Linked DNA regions of Homo sapiens: all the other regions are linked to region 1. The links are contacts of gene promoters, found by promoter capture Hi-C in blood cells and fetal thymus (Javierre and others, 2016). All regions are on one chromosome and are shown on one strand. The core of a region is centred on a gene start or on the middle of the fragment in contact, and the rest is flanking DNA. Distances in the headings are between cores, read along the strand shown.

What was found. Contacts are between HindIII fragments. The CHiCAGO score rates a contact against its expected background, and 5 or more counts as called.
Region 2: a contact is called between a fragment that was not itself captured here and the fragment with the promoter of GOLGA7 in region 1, in 1 of 17 cell types (total B cells). The highest score is 6.2, in total B cells.
Region 3: a fragment that was not itself captured here is called in contact with the fragment with the promoter of GOLGA7 in region 1 in 1 of 17 cell types (neutrophils); the score reaches 6.2 in neutrophils.
Region 4: a fragment that was not itself captured here is called in contact with the fragment with the promoter of GOLGA7 in region 1 in 1 of 17 cell types (M2 macrophages); the score reaches 5.9 in M2 macrophages.
Region 5: a contact is called between a fragment that was not itself captured here and the fragment with the promoter of GOLGA7 in region 1, in 1 of 17 cell types (fetal thymus). The highest score is 5.1, in fetal thymus.
Region 6: a fragment that was not itself captured here is called in contact with the fragment with the promoter of GOLGA7 in region 1 in 1 of 17 cell types (activated CD4 T cells); the score reaches 5.4 in activated CD4 T cells.
Region 7: a contact is called between a fragment that was not itself captured here and the fragment with the promoter of GOLGA7 in region 1, in 1 of 17 cell types (naive CD8 T cells). The highest score is 5.7, in naive CD8 T cells.

The regions. Positions count from the first base shown.
Region 1 is chr8:41,488,526-41,492,259 of GRCh38, forward strand. GOLGA7 (golgin A7) reads left to right here and starts at 2,057. Exons shown (of 5, transcript NM_001002296.2): 1 at 2,057-2,440. The coding sequence starts at 2,330. RefSeq lists a silencer at 1,688-1,947 and enhancers at 1,998-2,127, 2,418-2,527, 2,578-2,687. The HindIII fragment of the contact is 7,658 bases long and covers 1-3,734 here.
Region 2 is chr8:43,058,919-43,062,883 of GRCh38, forward strand. FNTA (farnesyltransferase, CAAX box, subunit alpha) reads left to right here. Exons shown (of 9, transcript NM_002027.3): 2 at 174-259. Among named protein-coding and RNA genes, the nearest start is that of FNTA, 4.6 kb to the left of the region's middle. The HindIII fragment of the contact is 2,316 bases long and covers 1,048-3,363 here.
Region 3 is chr8:39,983,329-39,987,377 of GRCh38, forward strand. IDO2 (indoleamine 2,3-dioxygenase 2) reads left to right here. Exons shown (of 11, transcript NM_194294.5): 6 at 2,180-2,194. Among named protein-coding and RNA genes, the nearest start is that of IDO2, 51 kb to the left of the region's middle. The HindIII fragment of the contact is 5,649 bases long and covers 1-4,049 here.
Region 4 is chr8:39,963,428-39,967,437 of GRCh38, forward strand. It overlaps IDO2 (indoleamine 2,3-dioxygenase 2), which reads left to right. Exons shown (of 11, transcript NM_194294.5): 3 at 181-276. Among named protein-coding and RNA genes, the nearest start is that of IDO2, 31 kb to the left of the region's middle. RefSeq lists an enhancer at 1-186. The HindIII fragment of the contact is 7,937 bases long and covers 1-4,010 here.
Region 5 is chr8:42,901,535-42,905,420 of GRCh38, forward strand. All of the region lies in intron 1 of HOOK3 (hook microtubule tethering protein 3), which reads left to right. Among named protein-coding and RNA genes, the nearest start is that of HOOK3, 6.5 kb to the left of the region's middle. The HindIII fragment of the contact is 6,491 bases long and covers 1-3,886 here.
Region 6 is chr8:43,098,161-43,101,722 of GRCh38, forward strand. The region is part of intron 2 of POMK (protein O-mannose kinase); the gene reads left to right. Among named protein-coding and RNA genes, the nearest start is that of POMK, 6.4 kb to the left of the region's middle. The HindIII fragment of the contact is 5,046 bases long and covers 1-3,562 here.
Region 7 is chr8:43,081,049-43,084,899 of GRCh38, forward strand. FNTA (farnesyltransferase, CAAX box, subunit alpha) reads left to right here. Exons shown (of 9, transcript NM_002027.3): 7 at 2,070-2,132; 8 at 3,662-3,833. Among named protein-coding and RNA genes, the nearest start is that of POMK, 11 kb to the right of the region's middle. The HindIII fragment of the contact is 462 bases long and covers 1,082-1,543 here.

The DNA.
Region 1 (3,734 bases), core at 807-3,306:
CCTATGGGAGGCAGAAATGCCCTCCCCAAGAGGTCCACACCCTAATCCCCTCAAACCCCTAACGTGTTAAGAGAGTAAAAAGACAAATCACAGACTGTGAAAAATGCATGCAAATCACATATCTGATAAAGGATTTTTCTCCAGAATGTATAAAGAACTCAAAACTCAAAAACAGCCCGGCCAAGTTCTCACGCAAGTATAAAGGCCTCAGGAAAACATCTTTAAACATACAAAAATCCAAGAATTAAAGTGCCTTAAAAATTTAAAACTGACCTTAAGCCCAGCCAATAAAGATGTAAATCAAAACAAAATAAAACAAAAAACCCCTCAACAACAGGAAAATAAAATACAAACAAAAAAATGGGCAAAAGTTTTAAATAGACACTTCACCAGAGAAGATACATGGATGGCAAATAAGTACAGGAAAATATGTTCAAAATAATTAGTCATGGAAAAATGAAAATTATAGCTGCAGAAGATATTACTACCCAAGTCTTGGCAAAGATGTGGAGCAACTGGAACTCTGGTGGGAATGCAAAATGGTGTCACCACTTTGGAAAACAGTTTGTCAGTCTGCCAAAAAGTTAAACGTGTTTTTACCGTACAATCTAGCCATTCTACTCCTAGGTATGTACCCAAGAGAAATGAAAGCATTAAGGTCTACACACCTATGCAAAGACTTGCAAATGAATGTCCATAGCAGCTTTATTTGTAACATCCCAAAACTGGAAGCAATCCAAATGTCCATCAACAGATGAATGGATAAACAAACTGTGGGATGGCCATACAATGGAATAGCTATCCAGCATCAAAAATAAATGAATTATTGATAACACAACAACAGATGGACTTCAAAATAGTCTATGTGAAAGAAGCCAGGCAAAAAAAGGGGGTACACACTATATGATTCAATTTATATAAAATTCAAGGAAATGAAACTAATGTTGAGTGACAGAAGGTGGATCAGTGCCTGGGAAATGGGGTCTGGGAGAGGCAGGAGGGAGAGATTACACAGGAGCTGGAGGAACCTTTTCAGGGCAATGGAGCTTTACTATCTTGATTGTGACAGTGGTTTATGGGTGTATTCATATGTCCAAAGTTATCAAATCCACTGCTTTAAATGTGTGGTTTATTGTATGCCATTTATATCTCGAAAAAGCTGTTTTTAAAATACAGTAAGAGAATTTTTCATATTTAAAAGGCAGGATATTTAAACTATATTAAATATATAAAAGACAGTGGTACTAACAGGTTGTATTAGCAGGAGACAAGGGTAAGGTGGGGTTTCTTTGGCTGCCTTGCAAAGAAATGCTGAGTCAAGTAAGGGCCAGTGGGCAACGAGGGCGGAACCACTTGTCCCCTTGGTCACCTGAGGGATGTGGATGGGAGCTGGGTGGAAATGGGGGGTGAGAGGAACGCCGCCCCCAAAGAAGAGTCGGGGCAGGGGCGCCCAACGCTGGGGCCCAGGCAGGTTCTTCGTCCTCACTTCCTGACCCTTTCTCAAGAGTCTAGGGACCAAATGGATCCATCCTTGGAGCCTGCTTTCTACTTCTGAACACAATGAGCAGTTTGTGTTTGAGGGTTTGGGGAGGGGGTGTTGTTTTTTCTTTATGTTTTGTTTTTTGTTTTGTGTATGAGTTGGGTGGCATAACCCACACGTAAGCTGCGACGTCCAATCAAGAACGAAAATGACCCCTCACAATCAGTGATCGGGAACCACCTGCCACAATCACTAGGGAAGTGACACAGCCGGGAAACTCCGCCCCTCACACCCCCGCGCGCTCGCGCCGGCCGCAGCCCCACAGCTCGCCCCGGCCGCAGCCCCACAGCTCGCCCCGCCTCTCTCCTTCCGGAAACAATCCCCGCGCGGGCGGAAGGCGGGGTCGGCCCTGGCCCCGCCCACATCATTTCCCTTCCTCGGCCCAGCCCCACAGCGCGCAGCTTCGGCAGGGTGGCTTTACGGCCGGAGGAGAGGGTGGGTCCCAGACCTGAGGTAGGAGGCCGAGCTGAGGGGCGGGGAAGAGGCTTTTTGCGGCAGGACGTAAGTGACGGCGAAGGCGGTGCGACAGCAGCTGGAGGGCAGAGGAGGCGGGTTTGTGTTTCCCGGGCCGAACCGGGTTGTGGGGGGCGCGGGGCCTGGGCCAGGCGGCAGCTAAGGCCCGCGGTGACAGCATGGGTGAAGGGGAGCGGGGCAGAGGAGGCCTTGGGCTGTTTTCGGCGGCGGGTGGGGGCGAGGGGCTGGCGGGTCAGAGTCCCGGGTCCAGGCCGGGGCTCTGACTCGCGGTTGGTGTTCCCCCGACCCCGCAGCGCGGGGTGTCCTGTCCTCGCCATGAGGCCGCAGCAGGCGCCGGTGTCCGGAAAGGTGTTCATTCAGCGAGACTACAGCAGTGGCACACGCTGCCAGTTCCAGACCAAGTTCCCTGCGGAGCTGGAGAACCGGGTACGCAACCTGGCTCCCCACGCCTGCTCTGGCGAGGGAGAGAGACTCACCGGGGACGGGAAGGGTGTGGGCGACAACCGGGCCTTTGAGGGTCCCGCAGTTCTGGGGAGGTCCAGGCACAGAAGGGGCCTTGGCCAAACGTGTAAGAAGAGAGCCACTAAGCAAGACAGGTGTTTGGAGCAGGAAGAATAATATAGGCCGATCGCCGGGGTTGACGACCTTATGGAACTTTGTTGCCCGGTGCCGGGAATCTGGATCCAGCAGTGTTCCCCTGCTGCACTCCCCCAAATCCCCACCCCGGGTTATTGTCGGCAGCGATGAGGAGCCAATTCCTGAGGCTCCAGGTCGTCTCAGTCACCAGGTTGTAAACTATATCCTCCTACCTCTCCGCGCAAGATAAATCATCATCATTCTCGTGACTGGTGTTTGCTGCCTCTGTGCTGGCCGCACTGTTTGGCTGAAAGGGTTTATTAGGTGCATGGCCAGGCGGTGCGTTCAGGCTTTCTTGGAACCTTAAAGACGTCGGGCGTTAGATAGGCCTGGACAGGAAAATGTCTCAGAACAAGGCCTTAAACTTGTCACATTCACTGGGAGCCACCTGTTTTGTCTTGCATATCAAAATGGTCATCAGGATATAGGTCCTTTGGGCAACATTGCAGGCAAAAATGGAAGAATGGGATTTGCTTCCCCTTCAGACCTAGCAAAACTTTAAAAAAAAAAAAAAAATCATTGTATCTTGTTGTAGAGGTAATGGAGTGTGTGCGTGCCTGCCTGTGTTTTTGTGTGCCCACATATGTACATTCAACCAAAGATTCTTTTGGTCTTGACCCATGTTATGTAGATTGTGTTTCCCGTTCAGGGATCAATTTCTGGTTAGCTGGAAGCAGGTTTTGTGGCTCTCTCCTCTGTGACAGGGAGGACGAGGGCCTGAGAGGTGATTAGGCATTCCTTGGGTGTGGGACTGAGAGATGCTGGTCATGGGATAAGTGGGTGTGGATGAGTCTGTGTAGAGAAATGTGTAGCAGTTATTTACAGTCAGTTTGCAGTGAGGTGGGTTGCACTGCCCGATTTCCATGGTTGGGAAATCAACAATGATCCATTATAGTTTCCTTCAGTTTGACATAACCATGGGCAGCTTCATGGCCCAAATATGTTTCTTGAATTGCAAATGGATCAAATATGCCTTTAAAAGATGGTGAGGTGACTTGTTTCTGAAATGCCATTTAAATGCTGCAGTATGTTGTCAACTATGTTATGAGTTAACTGAGCGTGACAATAGGTGGAACTATCTACA
Region 2 (3,965 bases), core at 956-3,455, 1.6 Mb after region 1:
GTGTAAAACATATTGGCAAAACTTGGTCATGAAGAATCCAACCATGATTACATTATGAGCCCTGTAAGTTATTAATATCAATGTAACTGTAATTATTGTCATTTTAAAAACACTAGAGTCCCTTTTCTTCTGTATTTGAATGTAACCACTGGTTGGGGAATGTCTGTTTTCAGGGACAGAGCAGAATGGGCTGATATAGATCCGGTGCCGCAGAATGATGGCCCCAATCCCGTGGTCCAGATCATTTATAGTGACAAATGTAAGTTTGTTTATATTAGGAAAAGGTCTGTAAGTTAAATATAGTAGCAGAATTGGAATTCACAACTATGTAGCAAGATAGATGACAAATTTCTGTCTAATAAAAATCTGAATGACTTAAGATGAGTTAATTTTGTGTTTTTTTTATGTGTGTGTGTGATTTAGCTTTATGATTAAAAGTTTTATTTTGCCCAAAGACTGGACATATTCTAAATAATAAACGTTACAGTATAGTAGATAATAGCTACTATGTGATTGTGGTTTTCTTTTCTTTGCTGGAGACTCCACCGCCAGGGAGATTATGCATGTACCACACAATATAAATGAGTTACTGTTTTTAGAATAAACTTTGGTTGCTGAAACATCAGGATTTAAACATATATTTTGGCAGTGAAGTGTTCAGCTCAGTTGGAATACATTTATTGATATTAAAATGAGTGGATTTTTTTCTTTGACAAAATATTCTTTTGTAATGAATGTGAAAGTGTAAATTGAAGGTCGTGGAAATGTTAATTGTTAGTTCTTCTAGGAAAGGGAAAATGAATAAAATGGAATGATAGTTTTGTAATTTTATGTATATATATTTCTTTCAGTTAAGGCTTTTCTAAGATCATTCTTTTACAAAAGCATTTTTTTTCTGCTAATAAAATGACAATAAATGTTTAAAAAAGCATAATGATAGGTTTGCCGTATTAAGTGTGCAGATATATTACTAAACTTAATGATTAAGTGGAAGTAGCACAGAAGTAGATTTGTAAAGACTCGAGAAATAGATCCTCACTCTATGAAAGCTTAATATGTGATAAAAAGGACATTTTATACCTTTATGAAAAGGGTGGATTAATCAAATAATGGTTGGAACAGTTGGCTGTGCACTTAGATAAAAGCAGAGTTGTATCCCTATCATTCTTAGGATGGAGAACGTATTAGGCAAGATGTAAACCTCAGAATCGATTAAGGAGAAGGTCAGAATATATAACTGCACGGAAATGCAAAACTCTCATACTTTGAGAGATAGTATATATGAAGAGACAATTCACAAAATAGAAATATCTATGAAGAGATATTAACCTTACTAGTGATCAGAGAAATATAAACCATAACTTATTCAGATTCATAAGTACTTATAACAGAGATGTTGGGGGAAACTAATATAATCATATGTTTCCATTGAGGATAAATTAACCTTTTTGCAAGGTATAAAATTAACATTTTGGGCCAGGCGCGGTGGCTCACGCCTGTAATCCCAGTACTTTGGGAGGCTGAGGTGGGCAGATCACCTAAGGTTAGGAGTTTGAGACTAGCCTGGCCAACGTGGCGAAACCCTGTCTCTACTAAAAATACAAAAATTAGCTGGGCGTGGTGGCAGGCGCCTGTAATCCCAGCTACTCAGGAGGCTGAGGCAGGAGAATTGCTTGAACCTGAGAGGTGGAGGTTGCAGTGAGCCACGATCACGCCATTGCACTGTAGTCTGGACGACAAGAGCAAAACTCTGTCTCAAAAAAAAAAAAAAAAAATTAACTTTGTGAATTCTTACATACACCATGGTTAGAAACCCTAAAGGAAAAGATAAGTTTGACCTGTCAACCGTTTATAGACAAATATATCAATTTAAAACTTACACAGCAGAAGAAACCATGAGCAAGTTAAAAAGCAAGCAGCAGTGTGGAAGAAGGTATGTCATTTAAACAGGATCCATATTAAAACTGAGACGTTTTTACAACAGGATAAGGAGACAGAGAGTTTAATCAAAAAATGGACAAAGGGTATGAACTGGCAATTCACAGAAAAGAAAATCCCATTGGCCAATAAAATAGGAAGAATCCTTTATCATTAAGAATGACAGGTTAAAATGAGAATTCCATTTTCCACCCATGATTTAAGTGGCAGAAATGAAAACTGTCTTGATATTATATTAGGTATTAAGATATATGAAGAGCTCCATACATTTCATATGGGATTTTTCGAATGTTTAGCCATTTTGGAAAGTAGTTTGGTATATCTGTTAAAACTGGAAAATGCACTTATCTTACAACCTAGCAGTGTGTTGCTTCTAATTTAATATTGGGTTCATTCTGGCACATGGCATGAGAAGATATGCACAGGAGGTTAAAAGCACAGACTTTGGAGCCAGACCATCTGGTTCAAATTCTAACTTCACATTTTACTGACTGTGTAATCTTGGACAAGTTATTTAACTCCTATGTGCCTCTGTTTCCACCTGTGTAAAATGAGGATCTTGGTAGTAACTATAGATGTAGTAAATTATTTACATAAAATAGTAGAATACTGTCTGGCTCATAGTAAGCACTATATATGTTAGCTACTATAATTTGCAGCATTTTTTGAAAAAGCAAGATATTGGAAGCTATATGTCTATCTTTTGGAGAAATGGATAAAATAAAATGTATCATTGTCATACAGTTAATACTATATAACCGTTAAGAGGATTTAGATCTATTATAACATGAACAGATCTCAGAAACAATGTTGAGTTAAAAAAGTCAAAGTTTGAGAATCTTCGAGCATGACAATATGTTGTTTATAATTTTTTTTTTTTGAGATGGAGTTTCGCTCTTGTTGCCCAGGCTGGAGTGCAATGGCATGATCTTGGCTCACCGCGACCTCCGCCTCCCGGGTTCAAGTGATTCTCCTGCCTCAGCCGCCCGAGTAGCTGGGATTACAGGCTTGCGACACCACACCTGGCTAATTTTGCATTTTTAGTAGAGACGGGGTTTCTCCATGTTGGTTAGGCTGGTCTCGAACTCCCGACCTCAGGTGATCCGCCCACCTCGGCCTCCCAGAGTGCTGGGATTACAAGCGTGAGCTACCGCGCCTGGTCTGTTTATAATGTTTGAATTAAAAGAATAATGTTTCATTTTACCTTTTACAGTGAATCGGATTTTGGTTGTTTACATAGGAACCTGAGGCTTTGGAGCTATCCCAGCCTGATAGCCTCCCAGTTTATTTTATCAATGTGCATATGTGTATGTTTTATGTGTGTGTGTGTGTGTGTGTGTGTGTGTAAGATAATGTATTATATATATACATTTGTATACATATTTAATATGTTACCATTTTGTTTTAAATTTGAAATTATTTGGAAGCTTGGTTTTTTTTTTGAGACAGACTTTCGCTCTTGTTGCACAGGCTGGAGTACAATGGCGTGATCTCGGCTCACTGCAACCTCTGTCTCCCAGGTTCAAGCGATTCTCGTGCCTCAGCCTTCTGAGTAGCTGGGATTACAGGCATGTGTCACCATGCCCAGCTAATTTTTGTATTTTTAGTAGAGATGGGGTTTCACCATGTTGGTCAGGCTGGTCTTGAGCTTCTGACCTCAAGTGATCCTCCCACCTCGGCCTCCCAAGGTGCTGAGATTACAGGCCTGAGCCACTGCTCAAATTCAACTTTTTAAAGATAGTGTTTAGAACTAGGTAAACTTTGTATACCTCAGAATTTTGTGAAGAGGAGTAATTGTTCATATTCGTGTCTGATACTTTCAGTGTTACAGGCTAAAAGGAAAAAACTGTTTCTCTATAGTCAAAATACTTCGACACCAAATGTTTGGATTTTTCACACCAAGCAATTTTCTGTAGACACCAACTAGTTGCCCTACAATTTAATTCAGTTCTGACATTACCCAGAGTTAGCACAGATCCCACAGGCCAAGGGATCAGTGCTGCAACATCCATCCCACTTCAGATGCC
Region 3 (4,049 bases), core at 855-3,354, 1.5 Mb before region 1:
GAATTAGACAGATGATCTGAGATGTTAAATTTTCCTTTCACCTTAATTTTTGCAGCCAAATTTATTTCAGCTCTAGATGAAAGAGACAGCACTTTCTTTTGTGGCTGACTACAACAGCTGAAGATTCACTGAGGTTTGATATGAGGAAGAACTTCCTCAGCCATGGGATTGCCAGAGGCGATGATGGGAATCTACTTAAAAGGGTTACATATTTAGTAGACAGCCTAGATTTTAAGACTAATTTATGTGCCCCGGCCGGGCCCGGTGGCTCACCCCTGTAATCCCGGCACTTTGGGAGGCTGAGGCAGGTGGATCATCTGAGGTCAGGAGTTGAAGACCAGCCTGGCCAACATGGTGAAACCCCGTCTCTACTAAAAATACAAAAAAATTAGCCGGGCATGGTGGCACATACCTGTAATGCCAGCTGCTCGGGAGGCTGAGGCAGGAGAATTGCTTGAACGAAGGAAGTAGAGGTTGCAGTGAGCGAAATCATGCCATTGCACTCCAGCCTAGGTGACAAACTCTGTCTCAAAAGAAAAAAAAATTATGTGCCCCATTGGAAGAAGTGAGATTCGGCCATCTCATCTCTCTCGGGAGCTCTGAGCCCTGGAGTTTTATGTTTTCTGCAATTATGAATTGTGATCCTTGATTAATTATGCTTTAATAATAAAATGGGTGACTACTGAAAGCTGCTGAATCTGGGTAAGAATTTGGATGAAAAAAATAATATATGTGCGTAATTTATTCTGTTCAAGGTACTGAATATTGAATAAGCTGGATTTATTACTCAAAGAGAAAGACAGAATAAGAGAAGGTTGAAGGGAAAAATGACTGTACTAGAATGGTAGTCAAAAATGCAACAACAGGCAGGTGCAGCGGCTCATGCCTATAATCCCAGCACATTGGGAGGCCCAGGTGGGCAGGTCACCTGAGATCAGGAGTTTGAGACCAGCGTGGCCAACATGGCCAAACCCCCTCTCTACTAAAAATACAAAAATTAGCCAGGTGTGGCAGTGGGTGCCTGCAATCCCAGCTACTCAGGAGGCTGAGGCAGGAGAATCACTTGAACCTGGGAGGCAGAGGTTGCAGTAAGCTGAGACTGCACCACTGCACTCCAGCCTGGGTGACAGAGTGAGATCCTATCTCAAAAACAAACAAAACAAAACAAAACAATAACAAAAAAGCTATTAATAGCTTCCTAGGGAGTAAGAGTGAAGGGCTAGTTTAATTCCAGAGATGCGGACACAGTCCTGGGTCTCACCAATTATTCTGCTTGGTAATTACCTTTTGAAGCCTTTTAATATGCCTAACACAGAGCTAAGTGCTATGAAGAAATGAAAGAAATAGAAGCAAAGTACTCCCCATGTGGTTAAATAACAAGACACTACATGACAAATGTCAAAGAGTGACTCAAACAATATGTCCTTTAGAATTTCAGAGAAATGACATCAATGCAGGCTTTACAAGTCAGTAAAAATCTTGGTGATGAGGCAGAACTTGATGTAAGGCAAATCCTAAAAGTTGAGTAGGAATCAACTAGCTAGAATAAAATGTGGGGTTGTGGTAAATACAAAAATGTAAGATGAGTGAAATAACTTATTTATTTATTTATTTATTTTCAGAGACGGAGTCTCCCTCTGTCTCCCAGGCTGGAGTGCAGTGGCATGATCTCGGCTCACTGCAACCTCTGCCTCCTGGGTTTGAGCAATTCTCCTGCCTCAGCCTCCTGAGTAGCTGGGATTGCAGGCACCTACCACCACACCCGACTAATTTTTGTATTTTTAGAGAGATGGGGTTTTACCACGTTGGCCAGTCTGGTATCGAATCCTCGACCTCATAATCCACCTGCCTCAGCCTTCCAAAGTGCTAGGATTACAGGCATGAGCCACTGTGCCCAGCCTAATAATATATTAAGATGGCCACAGGCCAAATATTCTGGGGCTGGAATGTGAGTGGAAATGTCGCTCACCCTTTATCACATAGCACCCCATAGTCCAGCCACAACTTGCAGAATTCAAAGTAAGTGTGGATGTGTGTGTGCCTGCAGTGCCTTGCACACAAGTGTGCATGCCTGTGGACATGTGACCCTAGAAGTTATTAATATATCTGGTTTACAAACTGAATTGTTCTTTTATTTTTTTTCTCTCTTGGTGGTCATCAATAACTGAAATTGGGCTAGATTCCTGGAAATTGGGTAAGTTCTCAGAAATCATTTACGCACTTTAGAATCCAGGCCAAATTTAAAATCTTACAATAAAACAAAGAACAAAGCATGCTAAATTATATGTATAATATAATATCAACCATATAAAATGCATAAAAAATATACTAGAAGGAAATGTGCCTAAAATTCACAGTCTAAAATTTAACAGTGATTGCCTCTTCCTTGTATAGATAAGGGATTTTTTTTTACTGTATTTTCCAGTCTGTACATAATAAAACAAGTAATGTGCAATGCAAACAAAACAAAATGAAACTTTATCAAATTTCAGTAACTCCTTGAAGTTTAATTTTTTTTTTGAGACTGAGTCTTAGTCTGTTGCCCAGGTTGGAGTGCAGTGGTGTGATCTCGGCTCACTGCAACCTCTGCCTCTGGGTTCAAGGGATTCTCCTGCCTCAGCCTCCCGAGTACCTGAGATTACAGGCACCCACCACCACACCTGGCTAATTTTTGTATTTTTAGTTGAGACAGCGTTTCACTATATTGGCCAGGCAGGTCTTGAACTCCTGACCTCAGGTGATCCACCCGCCTTGGCCTCCCAAAGTGCTGGGATTGCAGGCGTGAGCCACTGCACCCAGTTGAAGTTTAATAGTGTGAAAAAAATATTTCTCATCTCACTATATCTTCTATGGGAGGCCAGATTGCAGATTGTCTACAGAAAAATCCCTTCAAAAGACCTTGTTATTACATAGACTGGAGCTCATGGGGCAGGTCTGGTCCACACATCCTTAGGCTCCGCTTCTCCTGGAAAACAAAAATAGCCTCTGATCCAGTGTTGCCTCTCCCATCACCAAACCTCAGCTTCTATCGCCAAACTCATCAAATAAGAGTGTCCAGTAGAAAAACTGGGCAGATGGGGGCACAGAAGGTGAAGACATCATTTCCCAAGCTAATGTTGCTGCTGGAACAATGTAAGTCTTGACTTTGTCTTGGTTTGGTTTGGTTTGACATTGGTTTGTTTTTCATCTTTGTCTCATGCTTAAAATGTGAAGGGCAAATATGATCCTTAGAGTTAAGGTTTTAGGTTTTGTAGATGTTTTACTCCATTTAAATGACAGCAGATCATTTAGAAATGATTCCTCTGTAACAGCCTTCCAGATCCCATTCGATTGTACAGCATTGAGATAGATAGATAGATAGATAGATAGATAGATAGATAGATAGATAGACGGAATTTGGCCCTGTGTTCCCACCCATATCTCATGTCAAATTGTAACCCCCACATGTCAGGAGAGGGATCCAGTGGGAGGTGACAGGATCATGGGGTTGGATTTCCCCAATGCTATTCTCATGATAGTGAGTTCTCACAATATCTCATTATTATTATTATTATTATTATTATTGCAACAGAGTCTCACTCTATCTCCCAGGCTGGAGTGCAGTGGTGTCATCTCGGCTCTCTGCAACCTCTTGCCTCAGTCTCTTGCGTAGCTGGGATTACAGGCATGCCCCGCCATGCCCAGCTAATTTTTGTATTTTTAGTAGAGACGGAGTTTCACCATGTTGGCCAGGCTGATCTCGAACTCCTGACCTCAGGTAATCTGCCTACCTCGCTCTCCCAAAGTGCTGGAATTACAGGCGTGAGCCACTGTGCCTGGCCAGTTCTCACAAGATCTGATGGTTTAAAAGTGTGGCACTTCCCCCACCTCCTGCCGCCATGTAAGATGCTTGCTTACCCTTCCACCATGATTGAAAAGTTTCATGAGGCCTCCTAGCCATGCTTCCTGGTAAGCCTAAGGATCTCTGAGTCAATTACACCTCGTTTCTTTATAAATTACCCAGTCTCAGGTATTTCTTTATAGCAGTGTAAGAATGAACTAATACACAC
Region 4 (4,010 bases), core at 1,269-3,768, 1.5 Mb before region 1:
CTTAGTCATCTGTGTATCTGAGGTGAGCACAGGGCCTAACTAGCATATGGTGCATTCTCAATGTTCGTTCAACTGCATTGACTTGAATTCCCCTGAAGACTGAAATGTGAAAATAGCTACTCTCGGAAGCCCCTTTCCAGAGAGGTCTAAAATATTTACATGTTTCTATTTTAAATGCAGAAAGAACTTCCAGATCATTATAGGCCTTGGATGGAAATTGCCAACAAACTTCCTCAATTGATTGATGCTCACCAGCTTCAAGCTCATGTGGACAAGGTATTCTTCTCTTCACCCCCTCATCACATTCTGTTTTCATCATCATACCACTTTTCTTTCTTAGCCTTGTGGAAGTGTGTCAATTGTCCTGGGAAACTGTTCATTACCATTGAACTTATCAGCAAAGCTATATCTTCCTTCCTGAAAAACAGAATGACCCCTTCGTAATCTGATACATGTGTTTTCCTAAGGTTTTCAGAGCCAGCACAAAACAATGCCTGACACATGCCAATAACTCACCAAATGTTTGTTTAAAGAAGAATCTGGGTGGGAATGATAAACTAACTAATGGACAAGGTATCGCCTAAGAAGGTCAGCTTGGAAATTCTCAGGTTCCTCATTCCATGTACGTACTCAAGGCTCTGTTGTTACTGAGGGGGTCTAACTTGATTTTGTCCTAGGTGTTATAGAATAGTTAAATGGAGGGAATTTCTGAATTATAAAATTGGCCATGGGTTCTACAAAACATCCAATAAGCCTGTAAATTCCACACAAGTGTTGATTAGGCTGATACAAAGGTAATTGCAGTTTTTGCCATTACTTTTAATGACAAAAACCACAAACACTTTTGTACCAACCTAATAGCTATGTAACCCTGAAAAAGTTACTCAACTCTGTAATCCCATTTCCTTATTTATAAAATGAGAGAAACTCTGGTCTCACAGTATTGTTATGGGAAGTAAATCACTTTCAAAGTGGCCCTTTTGTAGTTCTTGTCCTATAATAGCATTCAGTATACATTCATTACTTCTCTGTAGTCTCTTCTCCATCTGTCCTAATCTATCAGTTTGGAGTACCACATAATTGCGGAAGTCCATGAAAAGTTTTCCGCTCTCCAAAATTTCCCTTTGCTGATGGATAATATTTAATGTCTAGAATTACAAATTCTTTTTAAAATACTCATTGAATGTTTGCTTTGTGCAAAGCACTAGAACCTTGTAAAAGATGAGTAAGGGACTGGCTTCAATGTCTGTGAAGATAGCAAACTAAACAGAGTAATTTCTTTGCCTGATAGATAAAATGTTGTGTTGACATGACCAAAGAAATCCAAAAATAAGAAAAAAACTATCTGTAAACACAGAAAAATAGAGAAAAGTTCCAATGATGGAATAAAAATTTAAAGGATTTTTTTGAACGTATTAAGCAAATCATGTATAAAATCCAGAAATAAGTTTACAGGACCCATGTCAAGGATTTAACCAAAGCAGAGGGAGATCCCCATGAGTCCCCTTTTCCCATCTCAGAATAGCAGAGAAGAGAAGCAAGGGAAGCCTGGAACAGTTGGCAAGAGGGCAGGTTAGAATTCAGTTTGTGAATTATGAGGTCGTCTGCCGTAGGCATTTACCAGGCTTTATTTGATTTAACTGCCATAAAGGAAGAGAAGGACTTGTTAAATTGGGGCTCCTCTTAGCACAGCATTGAAACCAGTCCCTATTCCTTCTTGGCCTTTTGGCTAAAATTGAGTGTGAAATCTATCACCTAACATTTGTACTGGGTTTAGGCTGGGTGTGGTGGCTCACGCCTGTAATCCTAGCACTTTGGGAGGCCAAGGCTGGCGGATTGCCTGAGCTCAGGAGTTCGAGACCAGCCTGAGAAACATGGTGAAACCATGTCTCTACTAAAAATAGAAAAAATTAGCAGGGTATGGTGGCACATGCCTGTAGTCCCAGCTATTTGGGAGGCTGGGGCAGAAGAATCACTTGAACCCAGGAGACAGAGGTTGCAGTTAGCTGAGATCACACCACTGAACTCTAGCCTGGGCCACAGAGTGAGACTCTGTCTCAAAAAACAAAACAAAACAAACAAACAAATATATATATATTAAAATACAAATTTTTACTGGGTTTAATAGTGTCTTCCTAGAAGTCATGTTCATGCATAATCTGTGAAAGTGGTCTTATTTGGAAATAGGGTGTGTACAGATGTATTCGAGTTAAGCTGAGGTGATACTGGATTAAATTGTATATGATGAGTGTCCTTATAAGAAGAGGAAAAATTAAACACAGGAACATAGACTCAAGGGAAAACATCACGTGAAGATGGAGGTAGAATTGGAATGATGCATTGACAAGCCAAGATGTGCCAAGGATTGCTGGCAGTCACCAGGAGTTAGGAGACAGGCATGGAACAGAATGGAACAAATTCTCCCTCAGAGGCTCCAGAAGAAACCAACCCTATTGATACCTTAATTTGGGACTTCTATGACTTCTATCTTCCATAACTGTGGCAGAGTACATTTCTGCTATTTTAAGTCATGATGTTTGTGGTCATTAGTTATGGCAGCGCATAAAACTAACACAACACTCTTGGTCTCTATCGCTTCTTTTTTTTTTTTTTTTTTTTGAGACAGAGTCTCACTCTGTCTCCCAGGCTGGAATGCAGTGGTGCAATCTTGGCTCACTGCAACCTCCAGCTCCCAGGTTCAAGCAATTCTCCTGCCTCAGCCTCCTGAGTAGCTGGGACTACAGGCACCCGCCACCATGCCCATGTAATTTTTGTATTTGTAGTAGAGACGGGGTTTCACCATATTGGCCAGGCTGGTCTCGAACTCCTAACCTTGTGATCCACCAGCCTCAGCCTCCCAAAGCCCTGGGATTACAGGCCTGAGCCACCATGCACGGCCTCTATCCCTACTCTTAATTGCCTGGAAAATACCTAACAAATGAAGGCCAGTTTTTAGACTTTACCACCAAAGGCTGAAATTGAAACAGGAATTGTTTGTGAGAAGCAAACACAATAGTTTCGAGAGACTGAATCAGTTAGCAATTTCCTGTGAGAGGCAAATGTAATAGTTTCTAGAACCACAGATGGAGCTATAACAAAAACATGTGTTCTCTGGATCCTTTACTTGCTACAGACAACACAATAAGTGAATTTACAGCTTTGATCTTACAGTGCACCTAAGCCAACCACCTTGTCTTAGAATGTCTCAACATACCTATCTGTATCTTGAAACAAAATATATTAATTGCCTTAGACCCATTCACTCACATTTCCTAGGAAGACATGATCAGAGGGAGCTATGCAAGAAGAAATCCAGCAGAACTCTGGAAATACAATAAGAAAATCCATATTAGACACTAATCTTAATAAAACTAACCTTCGTTCATGAATTTGAATAGACAAAATTACCAAATAATATGGAAAAAATGGGCAACTCAAAAAGAAGAGGGTAGCCCACTTGGCATTCAGGACCAATGGCCTCCAATAAATAAGATGATATTAGTGCTTTAAATATTTTATTTAGTGTATCCAGTATATTGCCTTCCTAAATTAAGTGAAAGCTGATATATAAAAAGAACTATTAGAAATAAAAAACCACACACATCCCAGAACTCCTCAATATAAACCTAACAAATTCAGTAAAACATTGATTGCAAAAAATATATATAGTGACTTAGGGACTTCCTTGATAAATTTCATAAAGCATAAAGAAAAATCAAAGAGTGCAAACCATCAGAAAAATACAAATATATAAAAAAGAGAAATACAGGTGATCCAAATTCCTTTTAATGGAATCCCATAAGCAGATGGGTGGAGGAAAAGTAAAACTTCCAACATATAAGCACAAAATTTTTAGACCTTAAGAAATATTTGAGTTTTTTATATCAGAAAGACAGTGTTGGGGTGAGGGTTGGGGGGCACATGTAAATACTCAGATAAAATTGTGAATTTTCTAGGGTAAAGAAATCTGCATATTCATAGAAAACAAAAATGAAAAATAGTTTATTTAC
Region 5 (3,886 bases), core at 646-3,145, 1.4 Mb after region 1:
GGGATAAATTTTCTTTAGGATCTGTTTCACTTTGGTCTTGCAGCAGAGGTGGACATCTCTGACCCTTATGAGCAACTATGTACCTCAAGGGCTAATACAGAGAAAATAATTGAATAAAGCCATGTTTTAAAAACAAAAATGAAAATTTAGCTTCCCTAAATCCCAAGAGAAAAAAACAAATCAAGTCTTTTTTTGGAGGTGGAGTCTTGCTCTGTTGCCCAGGCTGGAGTGCAGTGGCACAATCTCGGCTCACTGCAACCTCCACCTCCTGGGTTCAAGCAATTCTGCCTCAGCCTCCCTAGTAGCTGGGATTACAGGCACGCACCACCACGCCCGGCTAATTTTTGTATTTTTTAGTAGAGACGGGGTTTCACTATGTTGGTCAGGCTGGTCTTGAACTCCTGACCTCAAGATCCACCCGCCTCGGCTTCCAAATGTTCTGGGATTACAGGCGTGAGCCACCGTGCCAGGCCCAGATCAAGTCTTAACAACTAAGTTACTTGCTTTTTTGAATTACCTGCTTTGTTGAGTTGCTTCTTCTGATTGGCCAGAGGCTGTTTTCCAATCTTGCATCCCTTCCCTTTCATAGTGCTTTGGATCATAGGATTCCAAATGCCAAACCAGTGCCCAGCTGTGTAAGAATTATTTGATGAACTTGTTAAAAATAGATCCCCAGCTTCCTACACACAGATTCTGATTCAGTAGGGGGAGCCAAGAAATGTGTATTCTCTCTCTCTCTCTCTTTTTTTTTTTTTAAGACAGGGTCTCACTCTGTTGCCCAGGCTGGAGTGCCGTGGAGCAGTCACAGCTCACTGCAGTCCCGACCCCCCAGGCTCAAGTGATCCTCCCACCTCCGCCTCCTGAATAGCTGGGACTACAGGCGTGACCCACCATACCCAGCTAATTTTTGTATTTTTTGTAGAGACAGAATTTTGCCATGTTTTTCAGCATGGTCTCGAATTCCTGGGCTCAAGTGATCCTCCAGCTTTGACCTCCCATAGTGCTGAGGTAACAGGTATAAGCCACCACGCCCTGCCAAAATGTGTATTTTCAAACCCCCCCAGATGATTCCCCTACACACCAGGTTTGGGACCATTGCTTTAGACTTTGCAAAATACCTCATGGGCATTCATTTTCTCATTCATTCTGAAGCAACACACCCTTCTATAGGCTATTTTTCCCCAATCTTTCTTTATATGGAAAAACTGATATTGAGAGAGATGAAACATCCTGTCTAAATTTACAGGGCAAAACTAGGGATTAGAATTAGCTCCTTTCATTCAAAGTGGCGTCCACTGAGGGCTTGTTCGTATCAGGCATTGTGCTGAGGTCAGTGATAAAGAGAAGAATGAGACATAGTCCTCACTGCTGCCTCTATTTTTCCTTCTAAACAAACCTACAAGAAAGATTGGGTTTTCTTTTTTGAAAATGGGCCATTGACTTGGCAACTGTAGAATGGAAGCAAGTGCTTATTTCTTTTAAGTGCTTATTTCTTTTACTAATGAGCAGGCAGCTGGAGATAGTATGGAGTAAAATTCAAAATCAGTTCCCGCAGATGGTGTTTATTTGTTTCATGTATTCATTTACTAATCATTTATTGCACCTCTACCAGGTGTTTGGTTTGTGTCAGGGCAGCTTGGAAGGATCCTCTTATCAGCTTTCCCAAATAGACACTTAAGTAAAAACTTGCTATGAGGATCTTTAAGATAATTCCCTGGGCCTCTACCACCATAACCGTCTCTACCTGCAAAACTCTCCTGTATTATATACAAAGAAGCTACTGACTGTACTGTTAATAGTTGTCTTTTTTTTTTTTTTTTTTTTTTTTGAGACGGAGTCTCGCTCTGTGGCCCAGGTTGGAGTGCAGTGGCGCGATCTCGGCTCACTGCAAGCTCCACCTCCCGAGTTCCCACCATTCTCCTGCTTCAGCCTCCCGAGTAGCTGGGACTACAGGCGCCCGCCACAGCGCCCGACTAATTTTTTGTATTTTTAGTAGAGACGGGGTTTCACCGTGTTGGCCAGGATGGTCTCATCTCCTGACCTCGTGATCCACTCTCTTCGGCCTCCCAAAGTGCTGGGATTACAGACATGAGCCACCGTGCCCGGCCAATAGTTGTCTTTTAAAGATTTGATAAATGAGGTCGGGCGTGGTGGCTCAAACGCCTGTAATCCCAGCACTTTGGGAGGCTAAGGCGGGCGGATGACGAGGTCAGAGATGAGGACATCCTGGCCAACACGGTGAAACCCTGTCTCTACTTAAAATACAAAAAAGTTAGCCGGGCATGGTAGCGGGCGCCTGTATTCCCAGCTACTCGGGGGGCTGAGGCAGGAGAATGGCGTGAACCCGGGAGGCGGAGCTTGCAGTGAGCCGATATCGCGCCACTGCACTCCAGCCTGGGCGACAGAGTGAGACTCCGTCTGAAAAACAAAACAAAACAAAAAGATTTGATAAATGATACGGTGCGGAGAAGTAGCCACTCACCCACCGTTAGTAAGAGAATAAATTGCTACAGTATATATTTAGGGCAGTTTGACAGTTTTATCAAAAACCGTAAAATGTTCATACACTTTTTGACCTAGCAGTTTTACTTCTTTTCTAACCCAATAAATAAAAATTTGTGTGAAGACATATGGTCACCTGAGTGTTATTCCCAGTATTCTCATTGTCTGTACTGAGTTTAGCTTCATCCGTGTTAGTATATAAACCTACTCAAATGGGTCTTCCTGTCTCTTTCCCTCCACTCCTTCCTTCATACTGCAGCCGGTATGATCTTTTTTTTTTTTTTTTTTTTTGAGACGGAGTCTCGCTCTGTCGCCCAGGCTGGAGTGCAGTGGCATGATCTTGGCTCACTGCAACCTCCGCCTCCCGGGTTCAAGCGATTCTCCTGCATCAGCCTCCAGTGTAGCTTGGACTACAGGTGTGTGCCATCAGGCCTGGTTAATTTTTTGTATTTTTAGTGAAGAGACAGGATTTCACTGTGTTAGTCAGGATGGTTCTGATCTCCAGACCTCGTGATCCATCCGACTCCGCCTCCCAAAGTGCTGGGATTACAGGCATGAGCCACCGCCCCCGGCCAGATCTTATATTAATACAATGCAAACCTCATGGCTCACTCCCCTGGTTCAAATCCTTTGCTTACTTTATTCATAGAATAAGGTCCTAATGTGGCTTCTAAGGTTTTACATGTTAATTCTTCAGTTTTTTGCCCTGTCTTTCACCGTTTTAATTCTCCCCTGTTCTGTTTCTTCCTCCAATTCTTACCCCTACTCGATCTGTACCAAGCTGCTCTTCATACCTAAATTGCATCCCACTCTCACTTCTCATCTTTATGCCTGCTGTTGACACTTCTATTATACTGTTTCATTTTTCCTAGTTGTAAGTTCTATGAGAGGATGGCCTGTGTCTGTCTGTTCTCAGGGATTGATTTCCGTCTAAATCCTGAGTACACTACTGGGTAGCTGGCTCAGCTACATTTTCTTACTTTGAGAGAGAATTTATACTATTAGGGAAAGTACATTTCTTGGCTACATCATGTTGATTAGTACAAAGTTTCAGAATATATTTGAAATCAAAATGAAGTGAATATCTAACCTAACCATTCTAAGTGTGACTTCTACATCTGTGTAAAGATATTTGGCCTCCGAGTAACAGAAACTGCAACCTCACCAGATGTAAAGAATAAATGAATTCATCTCACATACCGGGAGGCATCAAGATTTTTAAATTCAGTAGTTCAGTTTTTACCTTTAGGACATAGTTCTTTTTTTTTTTTTTTCCTGTTTCTTTTTTTGGGGGGGGGGGTGCCGTGGTGGAGGGGATATAGTTCTTTCTAGCTCTTCTCTCTGCCTTTCACTGCATTGGCCTAATCTTAAGATGATTGCCTTT
Region 6 (3,562 bases), core at 22-2,521, 1.6 Mb after region 1:
TAAAGTGTACAATTCAGTGATATTTAGCATATTTACAAGGTTGTACAATCATCATCACTGTCTAATTCAGGAACATTTTAGCCAAAAAGAGACCCCATCCCTGTCAGCAGCTATTCCACCCCCTGCCTCCCCAGCCTCTGGGAGCCACAAATCTATGTTCTGTGTCTGAATTTGCTGTTTCTGGACATTTCATGTAAATGGAATCTTACAGCATGTGGCCTTTTTGTCAGGCTTATTTCACTGAGCATGATGTTTCCAGGGTTCACCCATGTTGCAGCATGAATTAGTGCTTTATTTTTTATGGCTGAATAATATTCCATTTATGGATGTACCACATTTTGTCTATCCATTCATCTGCCAATGGACACTTGGCTTGTTTCCACTGTTTGGCAGTTGTGGATAATGCTTCCGTGAACATTCATGTATGAGTGTGTGTGTGAGTGTGTGTGTTTTCATAGGTACATACTGGGCAGTGGAGTTGCTGGGTCGTGTGGTGACTGTGCTTAACCTTTTGAGGAGCGGCCAGACTGCTTTCCACAGTGGCTGCATTTTACTTTCTCACCAGTGATGTTTGAGGATTTCAGTTTTTCCACATTCCCCTATGTTGTTACTGATTTTTGTATTATAGCCATCCTCATGGGTGTAAAATGCCATCTTGTCACACTTCTGATCTGCGTTTGCCTTGATGACTGGTGAAGCTGAGCATCTTTCATGTATGTGCCTGTTGGCCATCTGTGTATCTACTTTGGAGAAATGTCTGTTCAAGTCCTTTGCCCATTTTAAAAATTTTATTTGTTTATTTTTTTGAGACAGGGTCTCACTGTCACTCAGGCTGGAGTGTTGTGGCACGATCACAGCTCACTGCAGCCTTGGTCTCCTGGACTCAAATGATCCTCCCACCTCAGCCTCCTGAGTAGCTGGGCCTATAGGCACAGGCCAACATGCCTGGCTAATTTTTAAATTTAGTTTTTGTAGACAGGAGGTCTTACTATGTTACCCTGGCTGGTCTGGAACTCCTAGGCTCAAGCGATCCTCCCACCTTGGCCTCCCAAAGTGCCGGGATTACAAGTGTGAGCCACCAATGCCTGACCCTTTGCACATTTTTAAATTGAGTTGTTTTTTTTGAATCTTTTGAGTTGTTCACCAGACATCCACATGGAGATGTCAAGGAAGCAAGCCTTGGGTTCTGAGGAGAGGCTGGGAATGGAGTTTTACCTTTGGAAGTTGTCAGCAGGCAGCGATGAAAAGTCCTGAGTCTGGGTGAGCTCTCCCAGGGAGTGTGGCAGAGGCCTGAGCTCTGAACTCTGGGGGACCCCACTACGTGGACTCAGAGATGAGGAGCTGCCAGAATGTAGTTTCCTGGAAACCAATTATATAAGGCGTTTAAGGAGGGAGTTATCAATCACGGTAGATGCTATTGATAGATCAAGGAAGACTGGGGCTGTGCTTTGACTGTTGTGTTTAGTGATGTGGAGGCCACCTGTGCTGACTGTGATAAGGTCAGTTTGGGTGCAGTGGCAGTGAGTTGGAGAGAATGAGAGGACAGAGCTGGGCGTGGGGTTTGCCTGAGCTGGGCTCGGGGCCAGTTTCATGGTAACACACTGTTTGTAGTAATAGGAGAGTGCAGGAACCTGGGGTGGGGCTTGGGAACTGGTGGAAATGCTCTCTGATTGCTTCTGTTTTTCTAGTAAAATAGGATGATCTCGTTAGATGATCAGCTGAGAGTGAAGGTGGGGGAACAGGTGGTACATGTTTGGAGAAGGAGAGTGTGAGCTTCCAGCTAGCCTAAGGCCACTCGGGACACACCTATCACTTTTATTGACTCACTGCAATAAGCGAGGCTGCATACTGGCGGGACTTGCATATCTTCATCAGAGGGACAGAGAGTCATCTGAGAGGGCACAGGGCAGGAGTCCTTCGGGGCCTCTCTGACCTGGCCCGGGGCAGGGAGCTGGGGATGGAAGTGCCATGAGTGCAAATAGGGAGCAGGGGGTCAGAGGAACAGAGGATATGGGAATGGGTGGTGGAGCCGGGAGAGACTGGAGCTTTGCCAATGGGGGCCTGGGCTGAGCAGGGCTCAGAGCATGTGGTGATGAGCCTTATGGCAGGTGAGGCTCAAGGCCCAGTGTGTGCTTAGGGAAGTGGGCAGCAGAGCGGGTGAGGGACCCGTGGGTGTATCACAGGGGTAGGGTGTTGAGGAAGTTCCAAAGCAAGCTAATAGGGGTTATGGCTGGAGAGAGGCCCAGTGTGTGTGCTAATGGGGGATAGTGTGGTAGAGGCACCAGGGTGTGTGCTAATAGGCCTCTGAGGCCTCGTGTGTGGTGATGGGGGTGTGTATGGTGTTAGTGCTGTGTGTGTGTCTGTGGGGGCCTGCAGGGTAGGAGAGAATGGGGTGCTTATGGAGGGGAGGTGGTTGAAGGACTCAAGTGCTGGGTGTGCGCTTGTGGGGGTTGTGCCGTGGTGGGTGTGTGCATGCGCTAATAAAGGTCTGGGTAGTTGGAGCCCAGTGCATGCTAATGGAACAGAGCTGGAGGGACCTCATGGAGGGATCTGATGGAGGGAGGACGGTGGGAGACCTGAGCCTGTGCTAGCGGGGATGAGGATTGTGGATCTCTGTGAGGTAGGGGGTGGTGGTGGTGCGGGAAGGGTCTTGGTACCGTCAGAGGCCCGGTGCGCTAAGGGTCAAGTTGGTGTGAGGTGCACGTGTGTCCCTGAGCACGAGGACACTCTAGGAAGGGGCAGCCGGATGGTTTAAGGCGTTCTAGAGGCTGCTACTGTGGGTTTAGAGCCATAGAGGCACTGAAGTGTGTGCCATTGCTGGGAGAGTCAGCAGTGTGAGGTCTGGAGTACGCTCAAGAGCGCCAGAACAGTATGAGCTTGTGTGCTTGCATCTGTGGGGTACTGGAATGTGTTGAGGTTCCAGGGAATACTGATGCAGGGGATGAGTAGAGCCGTGGAGGGGATAAAAATAAATTTAAAAGGCCAGGTGCAGTGGCTCATGCCTGTAATCCCAGCAATTTGGGAGGCTGACGCAGGAGGATTGCTTGAGGCCAGGAGTTCAAGGCCAGCCTGAGCAACATCGTGAGACCCAGTCTCTACAAAAAAAAATACAAAAATTAGCTGGATGTGGTGATGCGCACCTGTAGTCCCAGCTACTAAGGAGGCAGAGGTGACAGGATTGCTTGAGTTTGAGGCTGCATTGAGCTATGATTGCACCACTGCACTCCAGCCCGAGTGACAGAGTCAGACCCTATGTCAAAAAAAAAAAAAAAAAAAAGGAAGAAAATCATAGAATTTTGGAGATGAGTAAAGTTTAGGCAAATTTAAATGAAGTAGTGTTTTGATGGGCTCAAAGCCATGTAGAACTGAGTGTAAAGGGGCCAAGATCTAGTCTGGACTGCAAAGTGGTCCTCTTTCCTTGGAGACTACCAGGTTAACATAGATGTGCAGGATTATCTCCAGAAACTCCTTATCTGAAGGTCTGCCCTGTTTGGGAACTGAGGTTGCTTCTGTGTGTCAGAGTGACTTTGATCCTCCAGGAAAGCATGGGATGTTTTATCCC
Region 7 (3,851 bases), core at 63-2,562, 1.6 Mb after region 1:
GTTTGTTAAATTTTTTTTAACTCTAAGCATACACAGATAGATGTACATAATTATTTTTGTCATTTTTTTCTTTTTATTATAAAAGTAATGCAATGTAGTTATGGGGGGGGAAATTGTACTAAATTCTATAAAGTAAAAAGTCAAAGTCTTTTACTGTTCTTCATCCCACATCCCATTTTCCAGAGTGAGCTATAATTGGGTGAATTTTTCCAAACTTTATAAATACACTTGCAAACATTTATACACAGCAACCTAGATAATAATGTTACAGGCATTGCCTTTTCAGTTAATGTGTCATGGCCCTTTTTCTAGACTATGAGTGCATAGTCTTCTAGTACTACCAATAACAGCATTTATCAAGCATTTACTATATGCCACTAATTCTAACAGCTCTGTGAGACACTTCATGAAGAACTTGAGGTTCCAGGTAATTCTGTAATTTGCCCAAGAGCACATAATTTATGGGACCAGGATTTGAAGCGAGGCAGCCTGACCTCAAAGTTCATCGGTCTTTTTGTTTGTTTGTTTTCCTAAGAGACAGGGTTTCACTCTGTCACCCAGGCTGGAGTGCAGTGACGGATCATAGCTCACTGCTGCCTTGAGCTCCTGAGCTGAAGGAATCCTCCCACCTCAGCCTGCGAGTAGCTGGGACTACAGGCATGTGCCACTGCATCCAGCTAATTGTTAAAATTTTTTGTAGCGATGAGGTCTCACTATGTTGCCCAGACTGGTCTTGATCTCCTGGCCTCAAGCAGTCTTCCCGCTTTGATCTCTGAAAGTGCTGGGATTACAGATGTGAGCCACCATGCCCAGCTAAAGTTCATGTTTTAACCATAAAAATAGGTAATGCTTTAGTACACATGTATGTAAATAAAAATTTAGATATTGCCAAAATGAAATTAAGAATCTTAAACAAGGACCAGCTAAGACCTGCGGGGACATGGTTTCGCAAATAATTGGAAACATTAAGTCATGTAAAAGTAGTTGGAAAAGTATTTTTATAATGTTGAATGAGTTTATTATTACTCTGTGGAAAAAAAAAAATTATAGTAACAGCACTGCAGCAGAACCAAGACTACCAAGCTTTAGTCAGTGACTTACTCATCTGAGCAATTATGTGGTAAAGCAAGTTCTGTGGCTTCCTTGGGATTTGTGATAATTGAGTCTGAATTATATTTAATCTGTTTAAGGGGAAGATAAAGGTATGGAGCACCCATTTTGACAGGGAATCACATCACAGTTTACTAGTCATCTTGCTTTGGAATATAAGAAATACATTCTTGTGTTGATTTTTCATTTTTATTCTTTGCCTATGTAATTTCCATGCCATTTTTTAATGATAGCTAAAGATTATGTAAATTCTCCTATTTCAGTGACTAGGGATTTGTTGGGACGTAAGTAGAGCTTAGACTGTTTCCCCAAGGTTGCTTTACCAATAAATGGAAAGTTTCCTTCTTTTAGCTGATGTTTCCTTCAAAAGGAAAATCTTCCATATTATTTAAAGGAAATATTTTATGTTCCTTTTTTTCCTATTGTGAATTGAAGCTTTTAGATTAGTTTTGTGTCCTTCCCTAGAACTGAATTGACAGCTGCAGCCTTAAGGGATTCTCGTGATTTAAATATGACTGAGAGAGGTGCCACAGTACACTAAGAAACGCTGACACAAGTGAAAGTGTGTTTACAAAGCTGTGCCACAGTCTTAGTAAAACTGTGTCTTGGCCGGGCGCAGTGGCTCATGCCTATAATCCCAGCACTTTGGGAGGCCGAGGCAGGCGGATCACAAGGTCAGGAGTTCAAGACCAGTCTGGCCAATATGGTGAAACCCTGTCTCTACTAAAAATACAAAAATTAGCTGGGTGTGGTGGTGGGCGCCTGTAGTCCCAGCTACTCGGGAGGCTGAGGCAGGAGTATGACTTGAACCTGGGAGGCGGAGGTTGCAGTGAGCTGAGATTGTGCCACTGCACTCCAGCCTGGGTGACAGAGCAAGACTCCGTTTCAGAAAAAAAAAAAAACTGTGTCTCATCATTGCACTGTTCTTTTAAAATTGTATATATATATTTTTCTTGCAGATACACTCTGGAAATGATTAAACTAGTACCACATAATGAAAGTGCATGGAACTATTTGAAAGGGTAAGAGGTTGTTTTTGCTTTTTTTATATATAAAAAAGAAGTGGCTATATGATGCATCATGGAGTGTATTCCATAATCAGATTCCAAAAGGATAGTAAATAATTTTTCATTTTTCTGAACCTAAGAGCAGAAGTATAACAGCATTATGGAAACTCTCTGGGAGTTTGCCCTTCTATGCACCTCCCAAGTACCTACCAACACTGTTTTCAGAATAATCCACCAGTAAATAATGCCATTTTAATTGTATTTAAGAATCCTGTAGTCTTTATATCAAAGAATGGAACACACACACCCCCAGGCTCTAGTTGGCTCAGGAACACAGTAAAGCGGGGTAGTTTACAGGTAGATTTTGCCAGTGGGCAGCCAACCTTTCTGTTTTCATTTCTAGAGATCTCCGCCTTCAGGTTAACCTACTCCTCAACTAGAAAAGGTTTCACTTGCCTGGCCACTGACGTAACTAAGCTCCTTGTTGAACATAAGAGGTCTTCAAGGAAACTAGGCTCAAAGAGCACAAAGTATGGAACCAGTTACCCTTGGAGATGTGTCAGGGGAGGTGCCTGTAGTATTTGGAGAGCTCGAGGGATGAGAAGCCATCTCAAGAGAAGACGAGGGCTGGGCATGTTAGCTCATGCCTGCAATCCCAGCACTTTGGGAGGCCAAGATGGGCGGATTACTTGAGGCTAGGAGGTCGAGACCAGCCTGGCCAACATGGCAAAACCCCGTCTCTACTAAAAATATACAAATTAGCTGAGCATGTTGGTGCACACCTGTAATCCCAGCTACTTGGGAGGCTGAAGCACGAGAGTTGCTTGAACCTGGAGGTGGAGGTCAGAGTGAGCCAAGATCACACCACTGTGCCCCAGCCTGGGCGACAAGAGACCCTGTCTCAAAGAAAAAAAAAAAAGAAGAACATCTCTCCTGGTTTTGTCCTTCACTTTTTAAGATGATTTATTTTGTGTGTTGTACAGTTTAAGTTATAAATGAACACTTTTAAACTTCATTTTTAAAAACTTTTTCTACTTAGCTTGTAATTATCCTTTTTTTTTTTTTTTTTTTGGAGACAGGATCTCACTCTGTTGCCTAGGCTGGAGGGCAGTGGCATGATCGTGGCCCACTGCAGTCTCGATCTCCTAGGCTCTAGTGATTCTCCCACCTCAGCCTCCCAAGTAGCTGAGACTATAGGTGCCACCACTAGGCATGGCTGATTTTTAAAAAAATTTTAGTAGAGACGAGATCTTGCTATTTTACCCAGGCTGGTCTTGAACTCCTGGGTTCAAGTGTTCCTCCTGCCTCTGTTTCCCAGAGTGTTTCCCAGGCATGAGCCACTGCACCTGGCCAGCTCTTAATTAACTAATGATCTATGATAAGACTCATGTAATTTAAAAGTTTCATTATAGTTTCAGCGTCATTCATTCAAAATAACTCTCCTTTTCTTGTTTGTGTTTCAGGGTTTATTTTCTCTTGATCTTTCTACTGCTTTTGTTCTTCCTTCACAAAATCAAGTCTTTGTTTTTTGTTGTTGTTTACAGGATTTTGCAGGATCGTGGTCTTTCCAAATATCCTAATCTGTTAAATCAATTACTTGATTTACAACCAAGTCATAGTTCCCCCTACCTAATTGCCTTTCTTGTGGATATCTATGAAGACATGCTAGAAAATCAGTGTGACAATAAGGAAGACATTCTTAATAAAGCATTAGAGGTAAGCTGGTGGGGCTCA